Regions from separate parts of the Homo sapiens genome. Here region 2 is linked to region 1. The links are contacts of gene promoters, found by promoter capture Hi-C in human tissues and cell types (Jung and others, 2019). All regions are on one chromosome and are shown on one strand. Each heading gives the region's core, a stretch centred on a gene start or on the middle of the fragment in contact. The rest is flanking DNA. Distances are from core to core; before and after follow the strand shown.

Evidence for each region. Contacts are between HindIII fragments. The study calls those that stand out against the background at their distance.
Region 2: a contact is called between the fragment with the promoter of ING5 here and the fragment with the promoter of OR6B2 in region 1, in 1 of the 25 tissues and cell types used here (bladder).

Annotation. Positions count from the first base shown.
Region 1 is chr2:240,029,068-240,031,970 of GRCh38, forward strand. It overlaps OR6B2 (olfactory receptor family 6 subfamily B member 2), which reads right to left and starts at 1,362. Exons shown (of 1, transcript NM_001005853.1): 1 at 424-1,362. The coding sequence starts at 1,362. The coding sequence ends at 424. The HindIII fragment of the contact is 5,539 bases long and covers 439-2,903 here.
Region 2 is chr2:241,700,558-241,703,460 of GRCh38, forward strand. ING5 (inhibitor of growth family member 5) reads left to right here and starts at 1,482. Exons shown (of 8, transcript NM_032329.6): 1 at 1,482-1,545. The coding sequence starts at 1,509. RefSeq lists silencers at 776-1,595, 1,338-1,501, 1,686-2,245 and enhancers at 900-1,732, 1,971-2,600. The HindIII fragment of the contact is 25,906 bases long and covers 1-2,903 here.

The DNA.
Region 1 (2,903 bases), core at 112-2,611:
AATGCATGAATTATTGTTACATGCAAAAACATCAAGGATTCACTCAAGCAACACGGTGAATGAAAGAAGCTGAACATAACAGGGCACATACTTTATGTGTAAGCCCCTCAGAAACACCAATGCTAGCATCTGGTTTTGGAAGTCAGGACAGTGCTTTTTGTGGAGAAGGGTTAATGACTGGGAGAGGGCGTGAAGGCAGCTTCTAGTTCTTGATCTGGGAGCTGGTTCCATGAGCACAGTCCTTTTGTGAAAACATATGCAGACGAAGGCTTGTTACTTGTGCACAGTTGTGTAGGTTTGTTAAATTTCACTTAGTTCTGTAGGTTTGTTAAATTTAACTTAAAAATTAATTTAAAGAGCACAAAGTGCCACATACAATGTTGTTTCATCACTACAGATTTTACTCTAGGACATTTAGTTGTCTTAGTGTGAAGTTTGACCCAAGCCCAAGGCCTTTTTCAAGGCGTCCTTAAATTCCTTGTTCCTCAGGCAGTAAATCAAAGGGTTAATTATTGGCGTGACAACAGTGTACACGGCAGAGATGAGCTTGTTGGAGCTCTGGGAATCAATGGCTTGGGGCCGGACATACATGAAAAGCAAGGCTGTATAGAAGACGGTGACCACGGTGAGGTGAGAGGCGCAGGTAGAGAAGGCTCTCCAGCAGCCGGTGGCCGAGGGGATGCGCAGGACAGCCAGGGTGATGTGCCAATATGACAGTATGGTGGCCAGGAGCGGAAACACCAGGATGATGAAGGCCAGGATGAAATCCACCAGCTCTGCAGTGGAGAAGTCCGTGCAGGCCAGCTTGAGGATGGGGGAAATGTCACAGAAGAAGTGGTTCAAGACGTTGGAGCCACAGAACGTGACGCTGGAGATAAAACAGACCTTGATCATGGAGATGGTGAAGCCACTCACAAAGGAGAAGCCCACCAGCTGGAGGCACAGCCCCGGGGTCACAAGGACGTGGTAGCGCAGCGGGTGGCAGATGGCCACGTAGCGGTCGTAGGCCATGGAGGCCAGAAGCACACACTCGGTGCACACCAGGGAGCTGAAGAAGTAGAGCTGCGTCATGCACCCGACGAAAGAGATGCGTTTCTGCTGGAGGAGGAAGCCCTCCAGCATCTTGGGGGTGATGTCAGACACGTACCAGATCTCCAGGAAAGACATGGAGCTCAGAAAGTAGTACATGGGCCTGTGGAGGGAGGTGCTGCTCCAGACGATGAGGATGATGGCCAGGTTCTCCACCAGGACAAAGAGGTAGGTGAGCAGGAAGAGGAGGAAGAGCAGGTACTGCAGCCCTGGGGCCGTGGGGAGGCCCACCAGGATGAAGGTGCTGACCTTGGTGACATTCTCCCCACTCATGCCTCTGTGCTTGGGAGCTGCAGGCCTACAAAACATCAAAGAGCAAGAGGAAAGGGCTGCAGGGCAGCTGAGGCAGAGAGAGAGTGGAGCTGGACTTGGATGGGGAGTTTTGGTGCAAAGAGAGGCCACGTGGCTCCCCAGAGCACCAGGAGAGAGCAGTGATCTGCTGATCTTCTGAGTTTTAAAGTAGAAAACTTCTGTGTGCTTGCATTTACATATAACCATGAAGTAGGAATGAGGAAGAGAGTATATGCTGAGGAACAGAGCCGGGCAGCTCCAGGGTGGGCAAAACCCAAAGCTCTGAGTCCAGGGGCACTACCAGTCCACACGTGCCTGGGGCAGCTCTCAAGATCCAAGTGGGCATGGACACAGAGCTGGCCCTCCTTAGGGTCCTTCATCTGAGGGTTCCTGCAAGTCGGGGCAGCAGCCTCGGCATGAGGTGAGGGGCTATCAGCCTACCAGGGCAGAACCCCAAACTGGGCTAACCAGCCGGAGGAATGCAGGGAGGGCTCCCAGGAAAGGGCTGCCTGGCTCTGGGGGACCTGGTCCACAGGTGGGGGAGAGAGAGGGTAGCCACAGCCCCTTGCCCCACAGGGCATCTGGTGGTTCTTTTCATTGGCAGTCTAGGTGGGTTGAATGGCAGACTTCCACCAGCTCACAGCTGGGGAGGGTGACCCCAGGTTTCTGGCCCAGGATGCTAAAAATTGATGAGAAGACTAGGAGAGGGCCAGGTGGGTGCCGAATAATCTGGAGTCTGTGCTGGGGAGGCGTGGTGCGCGGCACTTACTGGAGAGCCTCATGGTGACGTGTAGGGGGTTGGCTAGACAAGTCGAGTTCATGGAAGAGTTGCAGGCTGAAAAACAAACTTCTAGAAGGGAATTGCCCAGGGACAGGTTTACACTTGGAAACGCACCTGTACTCCTGCCGTCTAGGGTGAGCATTCTGTGGGAACCCAAGATCATCCACTGGGGCGGCATGGCCATTCCCTGCCTTAAAATGCCAGCGTGCAGTTCAGAGTTTAGGATCAATTTCACAAGCATTTACTACTCACTCCAGTCACCGCCTACTGTCTCCCCAAAACAAAAGCAATAAGAACCCCTGCCATTAAAGGGGTCTCAAGATGTGAGTCTGAATGTAGCCTCTCTAGACACCATCCAGGGTGGTGACTGTGTCCTCTTCCCAGCTGAGTGGCCACAGGGGGCTTTAAAGTCCACAAGGAGGAAAGTTGGGGTCCACAGGAGCTCCTTGGAAGGCCAGCAGCCCCCACCTGTTGACTGGGTTTGCTGGGGAGAGCTGGCGGTGGGGGTAGTGAGCTTTGGTTCTTGTGCTTTTAACCCAGAACAGTAGAGGCACCTATAGATTTCTCTTGATTATTTGGATAGTGGTAACTGATCATTAGTGAGTTGGCTAGTTAATACCGGATTGATTCATTAAATTGAAACTGTGTTACTTTACAAATTCAGGGCCCTTTACAGCACACTCTATCCATCCCCTGAACTTGTTAGACAATGGCTGCATTTTCTTTTAAATAAACTTTTTAT
Region 2 (2,903 bases), core at 232-2,731, 1.7 Mb after region 1:
CGATTCTCCTGTTTCAGCCTCCCGAGTATCTGGGATTACAGGTACTTGCCACCATGCCCGGCTAGTTTTTGTATTATTATTATTTTGAGACGGAGTCTTGCTCTTGTCACCCAAGCTGCAGTGCAGTTACATGATCTCTTCTCACTGCAACCTCCCTCTCCCAAGTTCAAGTAATTTTCCTGCCTCAGTCTCCGAGTAGCTGGGAGTACAGGCGCCCGCCACCACGCCCGGGTAATTTTTGTATTTTTAGTAGAGACATGATTTCGCCACGTTGGCCAGGCTGGTCTCAAATTCCTGCCCTCAAGTGATCCGCCCGCCTCGGCCTCCCAAAGTGTTGGGATTACAGGCGTGAGCCACCGTGCCGAGTCTGAAACATATTTTAATTATGTTTCTCCAGTATTTTTTTTTTCTTAAAATTTTCTTTTTTTTTTTTGAAGACAGAGTCTTGCTCTGTCGCCCAGGCTGGAGTGCAGACGCGATCTCAGCTCACTACAACCTCCGCCTCCCGGGCTCAGCCTCCGGAGTAGCTGGGACTACAGGCGTGCGCCACCACGCTTGGCTAATTTTTTTTTTTTTTTGTATTTTTAGTAGAGTCGGGGTTTCAACACGTTGGCCAGGCTGGTCTCAAATTCCTGCCCTCAAGTGATCCGCCCGCCTCGGCCTCCCAAAGTGATGGGATTACAGGCGTGCGCCAGCGCGCCGGCCTTCTCCAGTATTTTTGCATGCATCTTACGGCACACCTTTGCACGCCATCTTATTAACTATATCATACTGCCGCACGTGCCTTTTCGGCCAAGGCATCCAGATGGTGCGGGTCCTGCCTGCCTCGAGAGGTGGCAGCAAAGGAGCCAGTGCCCTCACTGGTGCTGGGCGGGGCGGCCGCTTTCCTCGGAGGGAAGGGGCGGCGTTGGCGGGGGAAGGGCGCCAGGGCCCAGGCCCTGAGGGAGGGGCAGCTCGCCCGGGCCACGCGGTGCCGGCCCTCGGCTCAGGCCGGGCTGAGGCCCCGGGGGCTCGGGGTCCGGGGGAAAGGCGCTGAGCCAGACAGGTCCCAAGGAGCCTTCGGGAAGGGAGGGCCTCGTGGCGGCCTGTCCGGGACCCGGCCGGGAGCAGGGGTCGCGTGGGCGCCGTCAGGACGGGCGTGAGGTCCCCGGGACCACGTGTTTGCGTTTGGTGGCCCAGGGGTCGCTGACAGGTGCGGAGGGGAGACGCCCACCTGGGTGCCCTGGGCCGCACGCCGGGCGGTGGGGCCGGGAACCCCTGCTCCTCCTCGGCCTCCGATCCGCTGCGGCCCTGGGTCCTGCTCGCTGCCCGACGCCGCTGCCACAACCTCCGCCCGGGCCCCGCAGCCCGCCGCCCGCCGGAAGCTGAAAGGCGTGTCCGACCCCGCCCCCGGGCGCGACCAATCAGCGCGCGCGACTCATGAATAGTGAGCGCGCTGGCACCGCCCCGCCCCCGCCTCCCGCGGCACCGCCCGCCCGCGCAGACCCCGAGCGCGGCCGCGGACGAAGATGGCGACCGCCATGTACTTGGAGCACTATCTGGACAGTAAGCGCGCCCCACGGGCCCCGCGCCCGCCGCCCACGCGGAGTCCTCCGTGCCGCAGCCCCCCGCGCGCCGGGCACCGCATGCAGACCCCGTGGGCTCGGGAGGGCGGCGGGCGCGGCCGGGCGCGACGGGGGGCGCGCGGACGGGGCGGGGCAGGGCCGCAAGGGAGGGGAGGGCGCGGGGGGCGGGCGCGGGGGGTCCCGCCGGCTGGGTCGCGCCAATTCCAGGTGCGTCACGGCGGGGCGGGGCCTGGCGATGCTGGGCGGGGCTTGCGGCCTCGACCCCGCCCACATATTAGGTCCCGCCCCTACCCAGGCCCCGCCTCATCTCCGCCCCCAGCTCCGGCCCCGGCCCCGCCAGGTCCCGCCCGTCCCTGTCCCGTCTGCAGGAGGAGCTGGCGCCCGCTGCGGGGCTCCGGGCCTTGGGGGCTCCGGGGTCTGGGCCTCCGCCTGGCTGTGCGCCCGTGTGCGCCGGCCTCTTGTGTGACCGCGGCTGGGGAGGGCGTGCGGGCCGCGGGGCGTCTCTCCCCGGCACTGGGGACTGCGGCGCGGAGGCGGGGAGGGCGGTGCCGAGTCGGCCCTGGTGGGCGGGCTGTGCTGTTTCCAGGTGGCAGCAGGTCGGCGCCCCCAGCGGCTGAGCGGACGGTGCTTTCCCTCACTTTACACACCAGGGAAGGTCCAGCGCTGCCGAGCAGCCTGCTCAGGGTCTCCCGCTCGTAGAGGGGCAGACCCCACGCGGGACCCCTGACGTCGGCCCGGGATGGGCACAGCTTTGGGGTCGCGGTGTTTGGGGTTGTGCCGGGTGGCTCTGGAGGGCCCTTGTGGGGGCGCTGCACTGGGGATCCTCATGGTCTTCGGCCTGGCACCCGCCCAGGGGCTGAGACAGTGGCGAGTGAGCCGTGGCCTGGAGCTGGAGACCGCTGCCCTAGAGGGACGCCCGATTCTGCCCATGTGCTCCGCTGTCTCTTGGGGGTCTGAGTAGTGGGGGGTTCCCTGGGTAGAAGAGTCAAGCTGGGGAGCACGCTGGAGGGGAGGCCTTCTCTATCCTGGTGCCCAGCCAGTGGGCTGGCCTCCCAAGGAGGGTTGACTTTGTGTGTGTCTGGGAGGCTGTGCCAGCCGGGAGGCTGTGCCTCTGTCCTCTAGGGGAGCTGGGAAAACACTGGGGCTGGAAGCATCAGATGCATAAGATAGAGTTAGGTTTAAAATGATTGCCTGGTAACTGTGAACAGCAGATGGGAGGGTGGCCAAGACTGGAGGAGGCAGCCCCCCTTAGGAGCCTGTGTCAGCTGTGCAGGGGGCGGAGGTTGGCCTGGTCTAGGGGGTAACAAAGCAGACGCGAAAGCAGCACGGGGGTCCTCC